7 separate regions of the Homo sapiens genome follow, and regions 1, 2, 3, 4, 5 and 7 are each linked to region 6. Evidence: promoter capture Hi-C in 16 types of primary human blood cells and fetal thymus (Javierre and others, 2016). All regions are on one chromosome and are shown on one strand. Each heading gives the region's core, a stretch centred on a gene start or on the middle of the fragment in contact. The rest is flanking DNA. Distances are from core to core; before and after follow the strand shown. Region 1 overlaps NUP107 (nucleoporin 107). Region 2 overlaps MDM2 (MDM2 proto-oncogene). Region 3 has its middle 23 kb from the start of MDM2. Region 4 overlaps NUP107 (nucleoporin 107). Region 5 has its middle 3.3 kb from the start of MDM2. Region 6 holds the start of MDM1 (Mdm1 nuclear protein). Region 7 overlaps SLC35E3 (solute carrier family 35 member E3).

The links. The method cuts DNA at HindIII sites, captures the fragments that hold promoters and counts their contacts. A CHiCAGO score of 5 or more calls a contact.
Region 1: a contact is called between a fragment that was not itself captured here and the fragment with the promoter of MDM1 in region 6, in 2 of 17 cell types (megakaryocytes and erythroblasts). The highest score is 9.5, in megakaryocytes.
Region 2: a contact is called between a fragment that was not itself captured here and the fragment with the promoter of MDM1 in region 6, in 1 of 17 cell types (megakaryocytes). The highest score is 9.1, in megakaryocytes.
Region 3: a fragment that was not itself captured here is called in contact with the fragment with the promoter of MDM1 in region 6 in 2 of 17 cell types (megakaryocytes and erythroblasts); the score reaches 6.6 in megakaryocytes.
Region 4: a contact is called between a fragment that was not itself captured here and the fragment with the promoter of MDM1 in region 6, in 11 of 17 cell types (erythroblasts, megakaryocytes, naive CD4 T cells and 8 more). The highest score is 11.8, in erythroblasts.
Region 5: a contact is called between a fragment that was not itself captured here and the fragment with the promoter of MDM1 in region 6, in 1 of 17 cell types (megakaryocytes). The highest score is 8.1, in megakaryocytes.
Region 7: a fragment that was not itself captured here is called in contact with the fragment with the promoter of MDM1 in region 6 in 1 of 17 cell types (megakaryocytes); the score reaches 6.0 in megakaryocytes.

What each region holds. Positions count from the first base shown.
Region 1 is chr12:68,722,386-68,725,355 of GRCh38, forward strand. The region is part of intron 17 of NUP107 (nucleoporin 107); the gene reads left to right. Among named protein-coding and RNA genes, the nearest start is that of SLC35E3, 22 kb to the right of the region's middle. The HindIII fragment of the contact is 6,669 bases long and covers 1-2,970 here.
Region 2 is chr12:68,821,846-68,824,654 of GRCh38, forward strand. It overlaps MDM2 (MDM2 proto-oncogene), which reads left to right. Exons shown (of 11, transcript NM_002392.6): 6 at 2,518-2,585; 7 at 2,710-2,806. Among named protein-coding and RNA genes, the nearest start is that of MDM2, 15 kb to the left of the region's middle. The HindIII fragment of the contact is 6,178 bases long and covers 1-2,809 here.
Region 3 is chr12:68,783,259-68,786,205 of GRCh38, forward strand. No RefSeq gene overlaps it. Among named protein-coding and RNA genes, the nearest start is that of MDM2, 23 kb to the right of the region's middle. The HindIII fragment of the contact is 4,482 bases long and covers 1-2,947 here.
Region 4 is chr12:68,739,375-68,742,455 of GRCh38, forward strand. NUP107 (nucleoporin 107) reads left to right here. Exons shown (of 28, transcript NM_020401.4): 27 at 2,439-2,606; 28 at 2,981-3,081. Among named protein-coding and RNA genes, the nearest start is that of SLC35E3, 5.3 kb to the right of the region's middle. The HindIII fragment of the contact is 1,950 bases long and covers 538-2,487 here.
Region 5 is chr12:68,803,323-68,806,409 of GRCh38, forward strand. It overlaps the pseudogene SZRD1P1. Among named protein-coding and RNA genes, the nearest start is that of MDM2, 3.3 kb to the right of the region's middle. The HindIII fragment of the contact is 1,838 bases long and covers 489-2,326 here.
Region 6 is chr12:68,330,997-68,334,078 of GRCh38, forward strand. It overlaps MDM1 (Mdm1 nuclear protein), which reads right to left and starts at 1,366. Exons shown (of 15, transcript NM_001354969.2): 1 at 1,232-1,366; 2 at 111-225. The coding sequence starts at 1,249. LOC105369819 (a long non-coding RNA gene) reads left to right here and starts at 1,635. Exons shown (of 3, transcript XR_945057.3): 1 at 1,635-3,082. RefSeq lists an enhancer at 917-1,006 and a silencer at 1,307-1,566. The HindIII fragment of the contact is 10,890 bases long and covers 1-3,082 here.
Region 7 is chr12:68,758,009-68,760,830 of GRCh38, forward strand. SLC35E3 (solute carrier family 35 member E3) reads left to right here. Exons shown (of 5, transcript NM_018656.5): 4 at 1,149-1,231. Among named protein-coding and RNA genes, the nearest start is that of SLC35E3, 13 kb to the left of the region's middle. The HindIII fragment of the contact is 7,527 bases long and covers 1-2,822 here.

The sequences.
Region 1 (2,970 bases), core at 55-2,554, 390 kb after region 6:
TTTAAAATTTAAAACACATTATGGAAAATTATTAAGACTTTATTTTCCTAGATCTTAAAATCTAATATTTTCTAAAAATTATATTCTTTTAAAAATGCTTAAACAACTGTAGTAATATTGTATGTACTTGTAACAATAAAATAATTTTAGAATGTATAAATAAAACCTTTATAGTAATTTCTACCCCTTTATGGTTATTCCCCTGAGATGATAAAACATACTGATATGTATCCTTCTATATTTCTCTCCATGATCTTACGAATATGTGTAAATAATGTAGATACTCCAATTTAGAATTTTGATTTTTGTGTTTTTCACATTTTACTACATATATTACTCTACAGCTTGATTTTTTTCATTTAATGATAATCTCCAAGTTAGTTTATTCATTTTCACTTAACCTTATTCTTTTTAATAAATACATAGTGTTCTTTAGAATAATGTATGATTTATTTTAATCATTCCCCTTTGGGTAGTATTTAGGTTATTTCTAGTGCTGTAATGAAGTTACATGTGTGTGTACTTAACTACTAGTCCTTCTGTTTCTTTGGGATAAGTTTCCTGAAAGCAGGGTTACCAGGTTAAGGAGTATAAATAAGTATATGCTTTATACATTGTATATACATACATACAGTGTTTCTGAATGAATTCTCTGAAGACATCAGGTTGTATACCTTAAAAATATATACAATAAAAATAAATAAAAAGGCCAGGTATGGTGGCTCACATCTGTAATCCCAGCACTTGGGAGGCCAAGATGGGAGGATCACTTGAGGCCAGGAGTTTAGACCAGCCTGGGCAGCATAGCAAAACTTCGTCTCTAAAAAAAAAAATTAGCTGGGTATGGTGGTGTACCCACTTGTAGTCCCAGCTCCTCCAGAGGCTGAAGTGGGAGGATCGTGGCTTCAGTGAGCTGTGATTGTACTACTGCACTGGAGCCCAGGAGGTCGTGGCTTCAGTGAGCTGTCATTGCACTACTGCACCCCAGCCTGGGCAACAGAGCAAGGCCCTGTCTCAAAGAAAAAAGAAAAATTAAATAGGTAGGTAGGTAGGTAAAGAAACATTTTGAAATGGATGCTGCATGCCTGTAATCCCAGCTACTTGGGAGGCTGAGGCAGGAGAATCACTTGAACCCAGGAGGTAGAGGTTGCAGTGAGCCAAGATCGCAACGTTGCACTCTAGCCTGAGCAACAAGAGCGAAACTCTGTCTCAAAAAAAAAGAAAAAATTGAAATGGAAAAATAATTTATTACCTGGTTGTGGCAGTTAATTCATACTTCCACAAGTAATTTATTGAATTATACATTCTCACCAGCCTCAAATGTCACACTTTTTATGTTTTGCCAATCCATCAGAGTAGGTGGGAAATAGGAACTTGCTGTTCTACTCACATTTTCTTGTCTATTCATAAGGCTGAGCATGTTTCCTTATGTTTATTGACCATTTGTGAATTTTTTGTTCATATCTTTTAGCTATTTTTCTGTGGTGTTTTATATTTTTCTTATTATTATATAGGAGCACTTGATATAGTAAGGAAATTAATGCTTTTTCTGTCAAGAGTTTATTACCAGTCTATTATTTTGGATATTCTAGCTAATGAAATAAAACAAGAAAATTAAGGAACAGATATAAATACTAGAAAGGGAAGAACATTTATATATGATAAAAATATTAGTCTAGAAACTTAAAGCTCAGTAAGTTACTAGAATTAATAAGAGAATTTGTTAAAGTAGCCAGATACAAGACAACGTTTTTTTTTTAAAAGTCAAGTCTTTCTGTGCTTGTTATAACTATTTAGAAAAGGATTTAGTACCCCCTCCCCAAAAGTTCCATTTAAACGAGTGACCAAAACTAAAGAGATCTAGGAATAAAAAATTAATCCAGGGTTTCAAGCCCTTCATTTAAAAAACTATAGAATCTTACTGAAGGACATAAAATAAGACATAAATAAATAGATATATCATGTTCCTCGATGAGGGCATTTAATATAAATGTCACTCATTCCAAAATTAGCATAAAAACCTAATGCTTTGGGGTATTACTTCTGGACAGAAAATTTTGTCAAGTAGAAGAATAATTGAGAATGGCAAGAGCATTTTGAAAAAGAACAATCTGGGTTTGGTGGCTCACACCTCTAGTCCCAGCAGTTTTGGAGGCTGAAGCAGGAGGATCACTTGAGCTCAGGAGTTTGAGACCGGCATGGACAACATGGCAAAACCCCATCTCTACAAAAAAAATTTTAAAAATTAGCCGGGTGTGGTGGCATGCTCCTGTAGTCCCAGCTTCTCAGGAGGCTGAGGTGGGAGGATCACCTGAGCCCAGGGAGGTGGAGGCTGCAGTGAGCCGTGATTGTACCACTGCACTCCAGCCTGGGCAACAGAGTGAGACTCTGTCTCAAAAACAAACAAACAAACAAAAAAAACCACACTGAAAGCAAAAAAAGTAGTTAGAGGGTACTTGCCTTACTCAATAATAACACTTAATATGAAGATACAACAAAACAGTATAGAACTGACATGAAAATAAATAGATGAGTGGAACACAAAGTCCAAACTAGATCCAAGTATATATGAGAACTTAACAGATGTCAGAGGTGACATTTCATTTCAGAGGGAAAGGGATGGTTTATTTAAATAAATGGCGCTGGCATAATTGGCTTTCCATCCAGAAGAAAACAAAGCTAGATCCTACTTCATGCCATGTAACTAAAATAAATTCCATATAGAGCAAAGGTTTGAATGTAAAAATTAATAAATGCTGAAAGAAAATTTAGACAGCCAACTAAATAAAAATTAAAATACGTTTGACAACAAAAAATGAACTATATTCTTCAAAAAATCAAGCTGCAAATAAGTTAGAAAAGGTTTTCTCTACTCTGTACCTGATCACTATTTTTTTTTTTCACCCTTGGTGCCATGTACAGAAGAGAATACTCAAAGAATGCTTTCATGTACTGCTGCTCATGTTGAAA
Region 2 (2,809 bases), core at 174-2,673, 490 kb after region 6:
TTTTACTTGTGGGTTTTTTTGTTTGTTTTTGAGATGGGCTCTCACTCTGTCACCCTGCTTGAAGTGCAGTGGTAATCTTGGCTCACTGCATCCTCCACCTCCAGGGCTCAAATGATCCTCCCCCTCAGCCTCCCAAGTTGCTGGGACTACAGATGTGCTCCACCACGCCTGGCTAATTTTTCTGTATGTTTGGTAGAGACGGTGTTGCTATGTTGCCCAGGCTAGTCTTGACCTGAGCTCAAGAGATATTCTCACCTCGGCCTCCCAAAGTTTAGGGGTTACAGGCATGAGCCACTGCGTCTGGCTGTTGCACTTGTTTATATTTTTGTTACCTGTGTCCTATTCAGGTTTGCATTGTGCATCACACACTATAGTGTTTTATTAATATGGTATTTAATAAATGTGTTGAATTGAATACTTATTCTTCCAAAGTTAGGATTTAAAGCCCAGAAAAGTATCTCCATTTTATCCCAAAATAAAAGTAGTTATTAGGCTGATGATTTGGCATTTTATTGTTTTAAAGCTCTTTTTTTTTTTGAGCTTTAGATTGTATCCTTTTTATTTCCTTTTTTTTTAATTATTATACTTTAAGTTTTAGGGTACATGTGTACAATGTGCAGGTTGGTTACATATGTATACCTGTTGTTTTAAAGCTCTTTAAGAAATTGTGTGATAGCTAAATATACAATTGTAGTATTTGTAGTAGTAGTTTGAGTTTTCTGAAGTATGTAACCCTGATGTATTCATTCCTTCATTTGTTTAAATAAACTTTGGCACATTACTAGAAAAATTGTATTATTGAGATGGAAACTTACAAATTACTTATTTGCAGTCTGAGTTTGGTTTAGATATCAGTAGAATTAACTTCAGAACTCCTATTCCATGTTCTCAACTTTGTCACTTTTTTTTTTTTGAGATGGAGTCTCACTCTGTCACCCAGGCTGGAGTGCAGTGGTGCGATCTCGGATCACTGCAACCTCTGCTTCCCGGGTTTAAGTGATTCTCCTTCCTCAGCCTCCCGAGTAGGTGGGATTACAGGTGCCTGCCACCACGTCCGGTTAATTTTTGTATTTTTAGTAGAGAAAGGGTTTCACCATGTTGACCAGGCTGGTCTCAAACTCCTGACCTCAGGTGATCCTCCCACCTTGGCCTCCCAAAGTGCTGGGATTACAAGTGTGAGCCACTGCACCCACCCAGCCTAGGGCTTCCTTTTTATTACATCTTTTTTGTAGCATCTGTTTATACTAATCCAAAATTCCTGGACAATATAACCTATTATGTACAACTTAAGAAAATTAGTGTAATGCCTTACCCATAGTATAAAGAGAAAATTAATCTATGATAATGCATAATTTCAAAATGTTAATGTCCAGGCATGAGTTCACTGTTAAGATGAAAATGTTTCCAAGGGGGGTAGTAAAGGGTATTTGATGATAATTGTCTGTATATCCCAACTCTGAAACTTTGACTTTTGAGCTCAAAGTCTGTATATCCAACTACAAATGAAACCTATGTGCCTGAATAACTCAGTTTGTTATCTTCCCATCCAATCTGTTTATCTTTCTAAAGTTTCTCTTTTAGTGAATGGTACCACTCATTTATTCACCCAAGTTGGAATCTTGGAATCATCTTAACTCCTTTCTTCCTTGCCTTCTATATCAAATACCAGGTCTTGTTGGTTTTTACCTATTTAATTTCTCTGGAATTTGTTTTCCATGCCTTAGTTTAGGCTTTAATAGTTTTTAGTTTGTATTATTGCAATTGTCTAATACTGGTTTTCCTGCCTCTGCCCTCTTTTTCTTATGTTTTGCTAGAGTGATTTGTCACTCTTCTGCTTAAAATTACCATTTAGGGGTTCATTATTGCTCTCTGGATGTAATATTTTCTGTGAGCTAGAAATCAGTTTCATTTCTTGGACAAAAATCCTTTTTAATGGTGAGTGGCTGCAACATCGCATTAAGGAAGATTCTGAAGTATCTGCGGGGAAGAATGCAGTGATAAGGGAATGACAGCATGAGTCCTGCTTTGGCTAGACCACAGGATCCTTTACAGTCTGAACCTGCCTACATTCCAGTAATAATGAACTGCTTGTGGTGTCCTGCAACAGGAACTGTTGTTAGTTTGCTTTTGGATACTTTTTCACATGGCGTTTTCTTGGTCTGGAATGGCCTTTCCTAGCCCTATTTTCATATTGTCCTACAAAATATTTCCTGATTCTTTGTTTCTCAGACACTCCCTGTCCCTACCAAAATAATGACTCTCCTGTCTCTCTGCTAATTTATCTAACAGTCTTTTAATGTCTTGATTATACTTTACTCTTCTACATTAAAGTTGAATTATTTTATTTACATCTGCAACATTTAGTATGAGGATGCCACCTGGAAAATACATGTTTAATGTTTATTGAAAGGTTAAATTGCATAAGGGTTTGTGTTAGACTGATAGCATATCTACTGAGTAGCGCCCCGCCGCCCCCCGCCCACCACCAAGTTTCTGATCCTTTTTCTTTTCTCTCAGAATCATCGGACTCAGGTACATCTGTGAGTGAGAACAGGTGTCACCTTGAAGGTGGGAGTGATCAAAAGGTAATCTAAGTAAATTTCTCATTCTAATGTAATATTATTTGCAAATTGGAAAGGTTATTTACAACAAGTTAGCTTACTGGTTATGTTAAGTTTGTTGTATTTTATTTTTTTCCTAAATGCTTAGGACCTTGTACAAGAGCTTCAGGAAGAGAAACCTTCATCTTCACATTTGGTTTCTAGACCATCTACCTCATCTAGAAGGAGAGCAATTAGTGAGACAGGTA
Region 3 (2,947 bases), core at 348-2,847, 450 kb after region 6:
CGACAGAGCGAGACTCCGTTTCAGAAAAACAAACAAACAAAAAGAAGAAAAAAAACTGCCTTCAGTGAGGATTCCATGTTATTATCATTAAAAATGATAATAACATGTTTAATCCTTGTAACAACCCATTTTACAGATGCAGAAACTGGTGTCAGAGCTAGAATACCAATGCAGTGCAGCCACAGAACCCACACTCATAATCTTTAAAGCCTCTTTTAGAGAAAATCACTCCATGGATTAAAACTGCCTTGTTAATGCATATAAAAGTGTGTGTATGTGTGTGTGTGTGTGTGATCTTATTTATCCCTCTTTGCCTTAGGTCTGGGGAACTGGAAGCTATCAAAGCCATTCTGACACCTCGTTGGAATCTATCACTTGAGGGAGGAACAGTAGCCATAAGCTCAGTGAAAAGGAGTTTGTGAATAATTCCCCTGAAAAGTTTCTCTCTCAATTTGAGCAGTCATAGATGCATTGCTTCTTTTTGAACCTGTGTCTTATTCTAATTGAGTTATAAAGAAACAACAATGAACTGTGGAACTGAACAGTCCACTCTGTGACAAGTTCCTCTGTACAGGTTGGTCATTGTGTGACTTTTCTAACTTCCATTATGGTCCAAAAAGGGGGTTACAAGGGTATGATGGCTGTTGTCAGATCTACACAGACAGGCCAGAGGCATGTAATTCCCTCTCTAGGAACAAACATCAGTCACCCTCAGGGGTAAGGGAACCCAGCTGTCAGCTTTGGTAGGAAAACGCAACCTTCTCCAGAACAAGGAAAATAAGACCACCCACCACGTCACATTCTTGAGGTGTTTGTGCTGATCCTTCTCTTTAATCTTAACATTGTGGAATCTCCACGGCTTTGCTTCCTCTCAGCCCGCTCTCACCCACTCCACCCATTCCAATACACAGGCACTGGGTGAAGGACGGAACTTAGCTCAAAAGGTCTCTATCGCTTGAGGTCGGGCTTGCTCCTTCGTGGTAGGCATTCCATCATCTGGATTGCAACAGAACTGCAAACCACATTGCTTTCTAAGAGACTAAACCCAAGAGACTAACCCCAGTCCAGGGCGTAGCCACCTGCCTCTCAGCCCTAATTACAGACTGTACCTTCTGCTCATGAAGGAGCCCTGCTCTAACTTCTGGGAATTATATGGTTGCATTAAGGTATGGACACATTCCTTTTCTCTCTCGACACCAAAAAGGATACTATATCTGCTTGATCAATAGTCTACCTCTGACTTTAAAGTACTTACTAGAGTATAAGTTCCACAAGGGCAGGATCTTGTCTGTTTCTGTTTACCTTCGTATCCCCAGTACTGGCACAATGCCTGGTTCTTAGTATGTGTTCAATAATTATCTGTTGAATAAATGATTAAGTGAGTGATTTAACTGGACACGAAAACAGGCATATCAGCTGGGTGCAGTGGCTCACACCTGTAATCCCAGCACTTTGGGAAGCTAAAATGGGAAGGTCACCTGAGCCCAAAAGTTCAAGACCAGCCTGGGCAACATGGCAAAATCCTGTCTCTACAAAAAATACAAAAATCAACCAGGCATGGTGGCATGCACTTGTGGTCCCAGCTACTCAGGAGGTTGAGGTGGGAGGATCACCTGAGCCTGGGGAGGTCAAGGATGCAGTGAGCCATGATTGTGCCACTGCACTCCAGCCTGGCTGACAGAGTAAGAACCCATCTCAAATAAAATAAAATGGGTATATCAGTATAGTGAAAAAATTAATCATCCATTTGGTCTTTTATTCACTATTCCACAGATTTTATTGAGCACTGATTATGTCAGGCACTCTTTTCTTTTTTTTAGATAGAGTCTCGCTCTGTTGCTCAGGCTGGAGTGCAGTGGTGTGATCTCAACTCACTGCTACCTCTGCCTCCTGGGTTCAAGTGATTCTCCTGTCTCAGCCTCCCAAGTAGCTGGGATTACAGGTACCTACAACCATGCCCAGCTAATTTTTGTATTTTTAATAGAGATGGGGTTTCACCACGTTGGCCAGGCTGGTCTCAAACTCCTGACCTCAGAAGATCTGCCCGCCTTAGCCTCCCAAAGTGCTGGGATTACAGGCATGAGCCACTGCACCCGGCTGCCAGGCACTCTGAAATGCTAGGAATACAAAATTATTAGGCAAAGCAATCTAACCAAGGGGACTTTCCCAACTAATTAGACTCAAAGAAATAGTCTTTTATTCAGTCAGGAGCATGAGTCCTGCACACAGCACCCCGTATTATACTCTGAAAATTAGGAAGAAGTGGAAGATAGTGCCTTTCACCACAGAGCTTTCAATTTAGAGGCCAAAGAGCATGGCCAAATATTAAAAAGTTATGCAAGGACACAGATATGAACAAGGAAATATTAACGTACCACCAGCTGTACCAAAATGCTGCAGTTCTCTGAGTAATCAAGTGATCATTACTCATGGTATCTCAGTCAGATTTCAGACTAGCAAGATCAACCTTGCTAGTCTCTCTTTTAGGAACTCAGTTCTTTTCCTTCTAATGCCTCATCCCAGTTTGCAATTATATATTTATTTGCTTCTTGTATTTCTCCTTTACTATACTGCAAGCTCAAAAAAGGCACAGGTTATATATGTTTTAATCAGGCTATATTTTAAATGCCTTGCACTGTGCCAGTAAATATTCGTTAAATATATGAATTGCTGGGTATGATGGTGTGAGCCTGTGGTGCCAGCTACTTGAAAGGCTGAGGTGGGAGGATCGCTTCAGCCCAGGAGTTCAAGGTTGTAGTGCACTACAGTCATGCCTCGAATAGACTTTGCACTCCAACCTAGCCAACATAGCGAGACCCTATCTCTAAAAGTAAATGAATTAATTAATGAATTAAGGGTCACAGCCAAATTCATGCTTAAAATATTTTGATACTTGGCCAAGAGGATAGTGGCAGTAAATCAATAAACTGGTTGATGGTGAACTTCT
Region 4 (3,081 bases), core at 263-2,762, 410 kb after region 6:
ACTTAAAATAATGCTGAGCACATGGGAGGCTTTCAGTGGTACTTAGTAAATGAATGATACTGCATTACTGAGGTGAATGTACTGTCTTCAGATTAGGAATAGCTGTAATATCAGTTCCAATCAACTCTTGCTATCAACACATATTAGGTAATGAGTTTTTCTCACATGTAAGGCACTACATGGGGGGGCGCGGTGGCTCACGCCTGTAATCCCAGCACTTTGGGAGGCTGAGGTGGGCAGATCACGAGGTCAGGAGATCGAGACCATCCTGGCTAACACAGTAAAACCCCATCTCTACTAAAAATACAAAAAATTAGCCGGGTGTGGTGGCGGGCACCTGTAGTCCCAGCTACTCGGGAGGCTGAGGCAGGAGAATCGCGTGAACCCGGCAGGCGGAGCTTGCAGTGAGCTGAGATCGCGCCACTGCACTCCAGCCTGGGCGACAGAGCGAGACTCCGTCTCAAAAAAAAAAAAAAAAGTGGAAATATCCCTAGTGGAAATAATCCGTCTGTTTTACATATTTACCGGCTATTTCAAAGCTTTTGTTCATTCAGATGAGAAAAATGTCTTCAGTTGTAGCAGAGCTGTTTATTTGCTTTTCCTTGTAGCAATTTGCTGGGTCTGTCAGCCATTACCCTGGATAGTTGCTGGCAGCCCGCCCGCTAGTATCGGAATTCATTATAATTAGCAGAAGAGATTGTCTGCAGCACACTCTGATATTATGGCAGCAAAAGGATTTAGTAAAAGCAAGTCTGGGTCCATCCTGTGAGATAAGAAAGTAACCTGCTGCTTTTCGGGCAACAAGGAGTCAGAAGCCAGGGGCACCCGGCCTCTTTAACATAGACAGAAAGACTACATTGGAGCACAAATGGAAAGGTCCAGAAAGAAGCAGTTCTCTTATTCTTACTGGGTTCTAGGTTGGGATCACTAATATGAATTACAAGTAAAACCTTGAAGCATTTTAAATCCACCTCTGAAGGTAGCAAGTATCTATTTGAGAAAAGAAATAAAGGTGCTTCCCTTGTAAAGAAGCACTTTAATATTTGCTTTTATGTATTTATGCTTCAAACAAGACCAAAATATTGATAGTAATTTTTCCTATGTTTGGAAACCTGACCTAGATTAGCCCAAATTAGTACAATTACTCCTTGGTATAATTACCAGATTATACTTTGTTGTTGATTAACCCCTCCACTTACATGTCCATTTGAAAAATGTTTTAGCAATTTAATATAGCCTCTCACATGAAGATACTTTTAGGTATTCCATTAGGCTTTTCAAAGGAGCAGTTATTATTTTAGCTTGTCCTGTTTTTTTTTTCTACACTATTAGTGCTATTGATTTCCTTCCTATTTTTAAGATTATTTCAGAAATTGTAGTGTGTAATTTCTGTAATCCCAGCACTTTGGGAGGCTGAGGCAGGAGGATCACTTGAGCCCAAGAGTTCGATACTAGCTTGGGCAACATAGGGAGACCTCATCTCTACAAATAATAAAATTATTTTTTTTTTTAAATAGAAAAATTAGCCGGGCATGGTGGCACATGCCTGTGGTTCTTAGCTACTTGGGAGGCTGAGGTAGGAGGATTGCTTGAGCCCGGAGATCAAGGCTTCAGAGAGCCATGATTGTACCACTGCATTCCAGACTGGGCGACAGAGTGAGATGCTGTCTCAGAAAAGAAGAAAAAGGTTAAAAAAGAAAAGAAAAAAAAAAGAAATTATGTGGTTGGTTACTTTCTAATTATTTTAATTTTCAAATTTTTTGTAAGTAAATGTAGTGGGCATAAGAGGTTTACTCTTTTTTCTGTACTTTTACTGTTCACATCGATTTTAAGAAAGATCCATGTATGTATAAAGGAATGCCAATTGTTTTTTCTGCTTGTTTTCCTTATATATCTGTTCTGACTCATTAATTGTATTATTCAAATCTATAGGTTCTGTTTTTCTGTTTTTAAAAATTATATAAAGAAATTATAAATTCCATTTTCCATGTGTATAAGCAAAGTAGTCTGCAATGAAGTTGACCCTCCCTGTGTGCCCCTCCCCACATCGTCTTTTTCCCAGCAACAGTCATTGCTGTCAGTCTGTTGTGTCCTCTCAGGCCTCCTTAGAGCTATCTTTATTTATATGTATAAACATCCAAAGGAGTGGTGATTGTTTTCTGTTCTGATTTTTGCTCTAATGATATTCAGTTTCCAACTCATTCTTTTTATGCATGTTTTTATTCAGGACATAGTAAGTTTATTAGAAATACAAATGCAGAAGCATTTTATTTTCACTGTCATACCTCTCTGTAGTCTACGTTGTTCATCTTCATACTTTTTTGCTGTTAAATCTTGTCTACCAATTACATTCTGGGTTTGATTCAGTACCTGGCTTTTCTTTTTGTAAGGATCTTTAGCTTAAATTGTTAAAATGATTTATTGATGTCTGTTTGTAGGATGCCAAAGAAGACCATGAAAGAACACATCAAATGGTCTTACTGAGAAAGCTTTGTCTGCCAATGTTGTGTTTTCTGCTTCATACGATATTGCACAGTACTGGTCAGTATCAGGAATGCCTACAGTTAGCAGATATGGTATCCTCTGAGCGCCACAAACTGTACCTGGTAAGTTCTAGAGCCTTGTAGTTTTAAATTTTAATGATTTGATATGCTCTGTAGTAATATTAATTTTGTGAAGATGTGTTTACATTTGTAATTGCTCTTGGATTTTCTTAAAGTAATAGTCCAGTTTTAATGTTTTAATGTTTGTACTTTTTTCCCAAAATGTGTGTATATTTGTAAGCAGTTAGAAATATATAGACTGACTCTGAGAATTCACCTTGAAATTCCTGAACCACTCTAATTTACTAGGCTCTGGCTACATAAATCTTAAAGAGGCATTTCTTCTTATATGAAGCTAATCAGATCGATTAGGTAACTAAGTTCATACTTGTCTACTTGTCTTTGTTCTCATTCTTATTTCTCTTTTTAAAAATCAGGTATTTTCTAAGGAAGAGCTAAGGAAGTTGCTGCAGAAGCTCAGAGAGTCCTCTCTAATGCTCCTAGACCAGGGACTTGACCCATTAGGGTATGAAATTCA
Region 5 (3,087 bases), core at 158-2,657, 470 kb after region 6:
TGAGATTACAGGCTTGCACCACCATGCCCGCCTAATTTTTGTATTTTTAGCAGGGACGGGGTTTTACATGCTGGTCTCAAACTCCTGACCTTCAGTGATCTGCCTGTCTTGGCCTCCCAAAGTACTGGGATTACAGGCGTGAGCCACTGCGTCCGGCCCGGATTTTGCCTTTTAAATAACACTATTCAGTTCCAGATGTTTGGAAAGACATAAGGAATTTGAACTACTTCTGTAATTTTAGATGGTCTCATAAATATTGTGAAACTCAGCATTCTAAACACGGTTTCTGAGCTAAATCTTGTTTAGTTTTCACCATGCTTTAAAGATTAGTTGTGGCCAGGCACAGTGGCTCACGCCTGTAATCCCAGCATTTTGGGAGGGTGAGACGGGTGGATCACCTGAGGCCAGGAGTTCGAGACCAGCCTGGCCAACATAGTGAAATCCCGTCTCTACTAAAAATACAAAAATTAGCCGGGTATGGTGGCACAAGCTTGTAATCCCAGCTACTCGGGAGGCTGAGGCAGGAGAATCACTTGAACCCAGGAGGTGGAGGCTGCAATGAGCTGAGATCGTGCCACTGCACTCCAACCTGGGTGACAGAGTGAGACTCCGTCTCAAAAAAAAAAAAAAAAGAAAGACAAAAGATTAGTTATGACTAATAAATACAAGTACGAAGTGGCCCTTGGGTCAAGATAAGTCTGTTGTAGACTTTTTTTTTTCCCCTTGAGACATGGTCTCACTCTGTCACATAGGCTGGAGTGCAGTGGCAGGATCACACCACAACCTATCCGGGCTCAAGCCATCCTCCCAGCTCTGGCTCCCAAGTAGCTAGGACTATAGGTGAGTGCCACCACGCCTGGCTAATTTTTTTTTGCAATTTATAGAGACAGGGTTTCGCCATGTTGCTCAGGCTGGTCTCAAACTCTTGGCCTCAATAGATCCTCCAGCCTTGGCCTCCCACAGTGCTGGGATTACAGGTGTGAGCCTTGTTTGCAGAGTTTAGGTCCCAGAGAATATAAAGACACTCAAAGTATCTCAACCTCTTGGAACACCTCTTGGGCATCAAGAACAACGCTACTAGAAATAAGCAGTTTGCCTCTAGAGAAACTTCAAGTAAGCACAACAAAGGGCAAAGTGACACAAGATAACTGTGGAATGCAAGCAAACAGCAGCAGCTGGTCTGTATTTTTTTAAATGGCAAAGTCACAAACAACAGCAACTGCTTTTAGAGTGAGCAGGTAGTTTGCTTTCTTTTTTTTCAAATGGAACTCACTTTTTAAGTGATGACATGCACTTGGGGGTGGGTAGGTGTGAGTTCATTTGTGTTTTGAAATCCCAAATTAATGAGCATGATAAACCGCTATTGCTGGCCCTGTCTGACTCTCTACTCTGAGTAATTGGTGGGTTCCCCCCAACCTTCTCCTAACCCTCACCCTTTTTCCCTTTCCATTGACTTGGGACAGTCCTTGTCAAAGTGCCAATCACAGTGGGAAGGAGGAGAAGGGGGGAGGTCACAGTGCATGGGATTCAAGGTCACAGTGGGCGGAGCAACGGGGATCACCAGGCAAGTAAGTCAAGTTCCCGCTGCTCAAGTCCAGCTGTCTGCCACGGTAGTGCAACCCTTGGCGGACGACCCAGGACGCGTTGACGCGGCAGTCGCGCCATCTCTTCTTGCCTGCATTTATCTGCGCTGTTTGAAGCCGTGTGACCCATCAGGACCCAGAGGCTGTCTGATCACATTATTGGGCTGTCTGCTGTCTTCGGGTTAGGAGATCCTGGTTGGCCTGAAGGGAAGAAGATCAGAGGAAGACCTATCGAGGATGGGTTTCTCCTGCTTCTCCTCGGGTTGGCGCTGCCCAGGATCCGCTTCCTGGCCTCGGTGTACTCGGCTTCCCACTGTGCCAGGGACTTGACTGGAAGGGCGGGCCTGCTAGCGGACTTGGGGCTGCTGACCACACCGTTGCTGGTGGGCCTCTTGAGGATGCGGACCTGTGGAGGGGGTCCCGGGGGAAAATTATCATCCTGAATCACAATGGGCACTTTGGGAGATTTGAATTTCCTGCTTTCTGTGTGATCTTCAGTTTTTTTTCCAGACGTCTATTTCCCCGCTGTCTGCCGTCTCCTCCCAGCTCTCAGCAACCTCCTCATATTCCATCTTACTCGCCACTTTCCAGATCGCTTGCTTTCTTATTTCCACATTTTCTCTGACTTTTGCAGTATTCAATATTATTACCTGATTCTGATTTTTCAGACATCACTATATGGTCCTTGGCTTTTTGGTCGTTCCTCTCATTCCTTTGCTGTTTCAAGCTCTGTTCCCAGCCTAAGCTTTTTACCACCGAATTCTGTTCTGTGACCCATAACTTAAAACTAACCCAACTTTTCATTCCCTCCAGACTTTTTTTGGTAAGCAGTATCATCATGCTTTAGGTGGACACTGAGTCATACTGCTGTGGTAGTGCTGGTACACGTAGTTTTGAATACCAGGTTCTTGAGTGAATCCTTTTTACTTCTCTCTCTCTCCCCCACCCCCGCTTCTCCCTTCTGCCTTCATTTCTGACCCTTCTTTTCTGGTTCCATTAGAAAAGGACTAATCTTATCAGTTCTGCCTTTTTTTTTCTGCTCTAATAATTTTGTCAAGATAATTTTTTCAAAGCACAAGGCCAATGAGAAGGGGGAAAGTCGGTCCAGAAGGCAGCCGGCCCGACTATTCTGAGTTTGAATCTACTCTTGGTGGTCCTGTTAAAATACAGTTTGAAGCAAATCACTTGTTTTTATGCTTCTAATGTCTACTCTGTCGAAAGCCCAAATTTCCTTGCTTGGCATTTAAGGAGACTCCAAGTTCTTAAAACTTCTTCTTGACTTTCATGCAAGTCAAACGGATTTATTTATTGTATCTCAAACAGTCCTCTTATATTTTCCTTTCTGTATTTTTTGATAATTTTCTTGTGCCTGGAATATTCTCTGCTTTTATTTAAGTCTCACCATCTTTCAAGACACAAAATATGTGTGATCTCTGAGGCCTTTGTGAACTGCCTCCAGCATTTACTAAGCAATTAATTCTGTCTCTGAACTTTTATAGCACAA
Region 6 (3,082 bases), core at 116-2,615:
ATATCATTTGGTAAACTTAGCCCAAGGTTTACTTAGCCCAAGTTATAACGGCTTGGCCCAAGTTATAAACTTAGCCCAGGTTAGAATGGCTATTAGCCTGCTCAACTTACCTAATTGATCTGATCTAAGTCCAGCCCATGGGTACTTTCGCCCCACGGAGGAATTACAAGACTCGGACAAATAAGACTTTTTCCACAGGAAGTTCCTCTGGTATTCACTCAGCCCCTGTAATGCAAAGTACACTTTTGAGTACAGTCCAATTAATGAATGATGTTTTAAAGCAGACATCGGTGAAAAATAATTTCTGAACCTCCCAAAAGAGACTTAAGACTGAAAATTAAACACAGACGAGCTCCTTAATAAGAGCTAATATTCACCCAGCCCTGTGCTAAGCAGTTCACACGTGTTATATCCTTTAATCCACAACACCACTTGAGGCAGATGCTACCAGGAATTCCAGGCTCAGAGGTTACCCTTTCACTGATTATCTGATTCCAAAGCATGAGTTCTTGTCGGATAACTAATGACAATCTAAATTCTCATCATTCTAGATTTATCGCAGGTTTTCACCGAGTACACAATATTATGTACCATGCCTAGGACCTTTTGCTATTTGATAAAGTCAACAAAAGGCAAACTCCCCTTCCATTCTGAATACACGCCTTTAAGATAAATGAGTCAGGAGATGTGGGACGCTGTGGCCACCTGTGAAGTTGCAGGGTGCTAGTCCCTGACAGCTACCAGCTACCTGGAACTTTTAACATACGCTAAGAATGCACAACGATGAAAAACGTGTATTTCTTTATACGCTGTCTTTACTAAGAACCCATTTCTCAAGCCTTTAAAAGCCACATACACTAAAGTTTTAAAGGTAATGGGGGTTAAATGCTAAGCTAAATGGGCCACAGGTGTCCCAATCTGAAGTCGCCTTTAGTTCTCTTCGCAAAGGGACCTCCTCCCATCTCCACTCCTCTTGAGTCCCCCTAAGTAAATGTGTCTCGCACCATCTGACTCTTCGACACACTGCAGCTTGCAAATGTGAGTGAGCGGAGAGGGAACTAGGTTAAGAGGCGGCGGGCAGATTCTGGGGCCCCTCGAGCAGGCCCTGGGGCTGGCAGCTTCCGCCGGGCAGAGGGCTGCAGCGCAGAAAAGCAGCGTGACCTCGGCGCTCCACACCTCCCCGGCCATGGCTCCCCCCAGCCACATTCCGGCCCGGGGACCCCAGCCTCACCTTGAAGCGCACCGGCATGTCGCCCGGCGCCGGAGCCCCCGCTACTCCGACAGTTAACTGGAGAAAAAGCTCCGAGGGGGCGGGGCGATAACAGTGTTCCCTAGCAAAGCCTCGGCCCGGCGTCCCCGACTACGCGCCGGCGCACTCCGCGCTTCCCGCCTAGAGGCCTGTCGGTCTGTTTTTCCCCGCCCTTTTTGGAGCCTAGGGACCAATAGAGACTCGCAGAGTGCCTTACCTCCATTAGGATTTGACCAATGAGTGGCCGAAAGGGAGCCGCCTACCTCCCTTGCCAAATCCCTGGGGCTGATAGAGATGGCGGGCGGAAGGCCGGCCAATAAGGCTCCCGGAACCGGGCTGGGCGGGACCCCGGGGGTGCCTTCCTGGGTTGGGTGGACCGGTCCCTGGTTCGCCGGGTCCTGCGCAGCAATGCGTCTGCTTGCTGGTGGAATTCGCCAGCCGCCAGCCTCGCTGGCCCAGGTGCTTGACAGCATCAAAGGTCAAAGTGTGTTCTTCATGCTAACATCTATGAGAAAACCGAACGCTTCTTTTTCTGAAAGTGCTCAGATTTATTCTGCTGAATATCGGTTCGTACAAACGACAGCCGCATTACAGTTTATTGTCACATCAAAAGGGAAAGGCCAAAAAAATATATAACTTAGGCAAGATTTTTGAAACTTTATTGAAACTCGAAAGACAAACTGCTGTCTCTTCCTCCAGTGATGTTCTTCCTCCTTCAATCTCTACCTTCCCCAAAATGATGTACATACAGCCCTTAGATGAGAAAACGTTTATTGAAGATGGTTGTCTCAACTTCCAAACCTTCAGCCTTGTCTCTCCGCTCAACCTTTTTTTAAAAATAAAACTTCATCTGATTTTAATCGACTATTGCCATCATCGTCGATAAATGTTTCTTGACAGAATACTGCTGATTCTGAGAATTGGGAAAGAAAGAAATTGTCCAGATAGTTCTCTGATATACTTGGGAAGGACATACATCTTTATTTATTTATTTATTCATTATTTATTCAATAATGGTGTAATGTGACATGTGCTAAATTTCTAAATGAAAGGTGTCAATAATAAGGGCTACAGGATCTGGGAGCAGGGAGTCATTTCGGACGGCAGAAGATGCGTCAGGAGGAAATATTCAGACTGAAAGGACTGCAATAAGTAAAAAGTGGGACGATGAAAGGGCAGATGTCTGAATGGAATGCTGCCAGGCTTCTTCCAGGAACAACAAATGAGTGCCTTTTACATTTGTCATGTGTTGACTGAATAAAAGTATACCACTCTTAAACTTTCAAATATCAACACCAATCCTTGATGCTTCCCTTTAAGCATTTTCCGCAAAAGCTGTCTTCCTGAATCCTGATTGATGTCTTTGTTCTTCATCATCATCGAGATACTTAAAAATCATTTGAAGAAGCCACCTGATATCTGGAACAAAGAGCATATTAAATTAGTCCCAATGCAGCCATGCATCCAGGGGGCCCTTGATTAATGTTAATTGGTGATGACAGCATCTCTGTCGTGTAAATTAAGAATGGCACAAACAAGACACAGTGGAACATAGAACAAAAGTCATCTGCAGGAAGGCAGCCCATCTTACAGAGTAAGAAAGGCACAACTTTGGTTGTGCACACAGCTTTGTTACCACAAAATGCTAAGGTGAGATCAGCAAAAGCAAGTGTGTAGAATGTAGCCTGCCTGCTAAACAAGCGCAATGATCACTGCAGAAGAGCTCTGCTGAGCAGGGAGTAAATGACAGGAAAACCAAACAGCAGATTGTAAAAATAACTCAGTCACATCCCAGGCTTGCTAGAGAAGTATCATAAAGACTTAAGGAAGAAG
Region 7 (2,822 bases), core at 140-2,639, 430 kb after region 6:
TTGAACCTGGGAGGCAGAAGTTGCAGTGAGTCAAGATTGCACCACTGCACTCTAGACTAGGCGACAGAATGAGACTCCATCTCAAAAAAAAAAAAAGAATAAAAATGAGCAATTTAATAGAAAAAGATCTCGGCCGGGTGCAGTGGCTCACGCCTGTAATCCCAGCACTTTGGGAGGCCGAGGTGGGTGGATCATGAGGTCAGGAGTTCAAGACCAGCCTGGCCAAGATGGTGAAACCCATCTCTACTAAAAATACAAAAAATTAGCCGGGCGCAGTGGCAGGCGCCTGTAGTCCCAGCTACTCAGGAGAATGAGGAAGGAGAATCATTTGAATCTGGAGGGTGGAGGTTGCAGTGAGCCCAGATCGTGCCACTGCACTCCAGCCTGGGTGACAGAGTGAAACTCCGTCTCAAAAAAAAAAGAAAAAGATCTCGAAGGAGGTATGCCGAGATGTTAATGTGTGGGTGGTTGGGATTATAAGAATTCCTTATATTCTTTTTGCTTTTCTTTATTGTCTGATGTACAATAATAATAATGCATATGTATACTTTTTCTTTAGATTAATAAGAAAAATGAACCTGGAAATTCACAATCACAGAAAGGATGTTATTGCAGTATTTTTCGTTGATTCTTGTGGAAAAAATTACGTTTTTTCTAAACACGGTTCATTCTGCTTTTTTACTTGCAATTCTTACTGTCTCCCAACCCCAAATTCTCTTTCTTTTTTTTTTTTTTTTTTTTTTTTTTTTTTGAGATGGAGTCTTACTCTGTCGCCCAGGCTGGAGTGCAGTGGCGTGATCTCGGCTCACTGCAAGCTCCACCTTCCAGGTTCATGCCATTCTCCTGCCTCAGCCTCCCAAGTAGCTGGGACTACAGGCGCCCGCCACTGCGCCCAGCAAATTTTTTATATTTTTAGTAGAGATGGGGTTTCACCATGGTCTCGATCTCCTGACCTCGTGATCCGCCCGCCTTGGCCTCCCAAAGTGCTGGGATTACAGGCGTGAGCCACCGCGCCCGGCCCTCTCTTTCTAATCTTATTTATTAATGGTTGATATTTGAATTTTTTAAAATGCCGAATGAAATGTATCTTTGCTTGATGATTATGATTGCAGTGCTTTGCATTAATGGTTCTTTTGGTTTATTTGTAGCTTATGGTGCTGCTATCTGGAGTAATAGCTTTCATGGTGAACTTATCAATTTATTGGATCATTGGGAACACTTCACCTGTCACGTATCCTTTTCATATAACTTAGAAATGCATCGTCTTTTATATTTTCCAAAACTTTTACATTCATTACCTTATTTGAATCTCACACTAACTATTGCATGGCCTAAATTGAGTAGAGAGAGTTATTTTTAGCCTTTTACTGTATCTTTACCCACTAAAGGATTTTAAAGAAATATGAACTGAAGGGGCAAGTGTGGTGGCTCACACCTGTAATCCCAACACTTCAGGAGGCCGAGGCGGGTGAATCGCTTAAGGCCAGGAGTTCAAGACCAGCCTGGATAACATGGTGAAACCCCGTCTCTACAAAAAATATATAAATTAGCTGGGTAAGGTGGTGCACGCCTGTAATCCCAGCTACTCAGGAGGCTGAGGCACAAGAATTGCTTGAACTGGGGAGTCGGAGGTTACAGTGAGCTGAGATTGTGCCACTGTACTCCAGCCTGGGCAACAGAGCAAGACTCTGTCTTAAAAAAAAAAAAAAAGAAATATGAACTGAGGAAGTGGGTTAGCTTTTTGTGTCATGAATGTTTCTGAATTTTCTTATGTAATAGGTGACCTTTTCCCTTACAAAAATTAACTCAGAGTACCATTTCTTACAGACAGTGAGATTAAATATTTTTTGAATGAATAGTGAGGTGGAGGTTTGGATTTTCAAACAATTTTCAGGTATTTCTAGTAACAAAGTAGAGGAATGGTTAACAAATAACAAAAGATAATTTCAGGCCACTGGCATCTGGCTATGGAGTATGTGTTTGTACTTATTTGGATATGGGTGTGCCTGTTTTTCTCAATATTATTTCAAGTCAAGAAATGAAGTCATTGGCCGGGTGCCATGGCTCACGCCTGTAATTCCAACACTGTGGGAGGCCGAGGCAGGAGGATCGCTTGAGCCCAAGAGTTCGAGACCAGCCTGGGCAACATAGGGAGAACCTATCTCTACCAAAAAAAGAAAAAATAGAAATGAAGTTATATGTTAAAGGTCAAATTCAACTGTCCATTTGTACCATTCTGCTTGTCATCCTGTTTCTCTTCACATTTCACTCTGCCCCCACCCTTAGGCAAATGCAACAAATGAATTTCCCCAGGAAGTAAACAAGTAGGATATTTGCCAACTATCAATAAAAAACAACAACGATAAGTTTTTTAGAAAACCAATACTTAACAAATATTTATTTTGTGTCAGACACTGTTAGAAACATTTTGTATGTATTAGTCCATTTAATTCTCACAGCAGCTCTGTGAGGTAAAGTCTGTCATTTTTGTTTATAGAAAAAATAGAGGCACAGAGAGGTTAACCAACTCACTTAAGGCACACAGCTGACAAATGGGATGTCCAGATTTGAACCCATGCAGTCTAGTCCCCAAATTTGTACATCATACTACCCAATCAAGGCATCCAAATATGTGCTCTGATTTAAAACATTAATTTATTCAATAAGTATTTATTGAATACCCACTAAACCAGTCATTGATATAAAAATATTTATATACTGAACATCTACTGTGTGCCAGGCACAGGGGATACAGTAATGAACCACATAGACAAAAGTCTTTGCTCTCACAGGCTTGAATTCTGGTGAGGAAGACTAGAAAT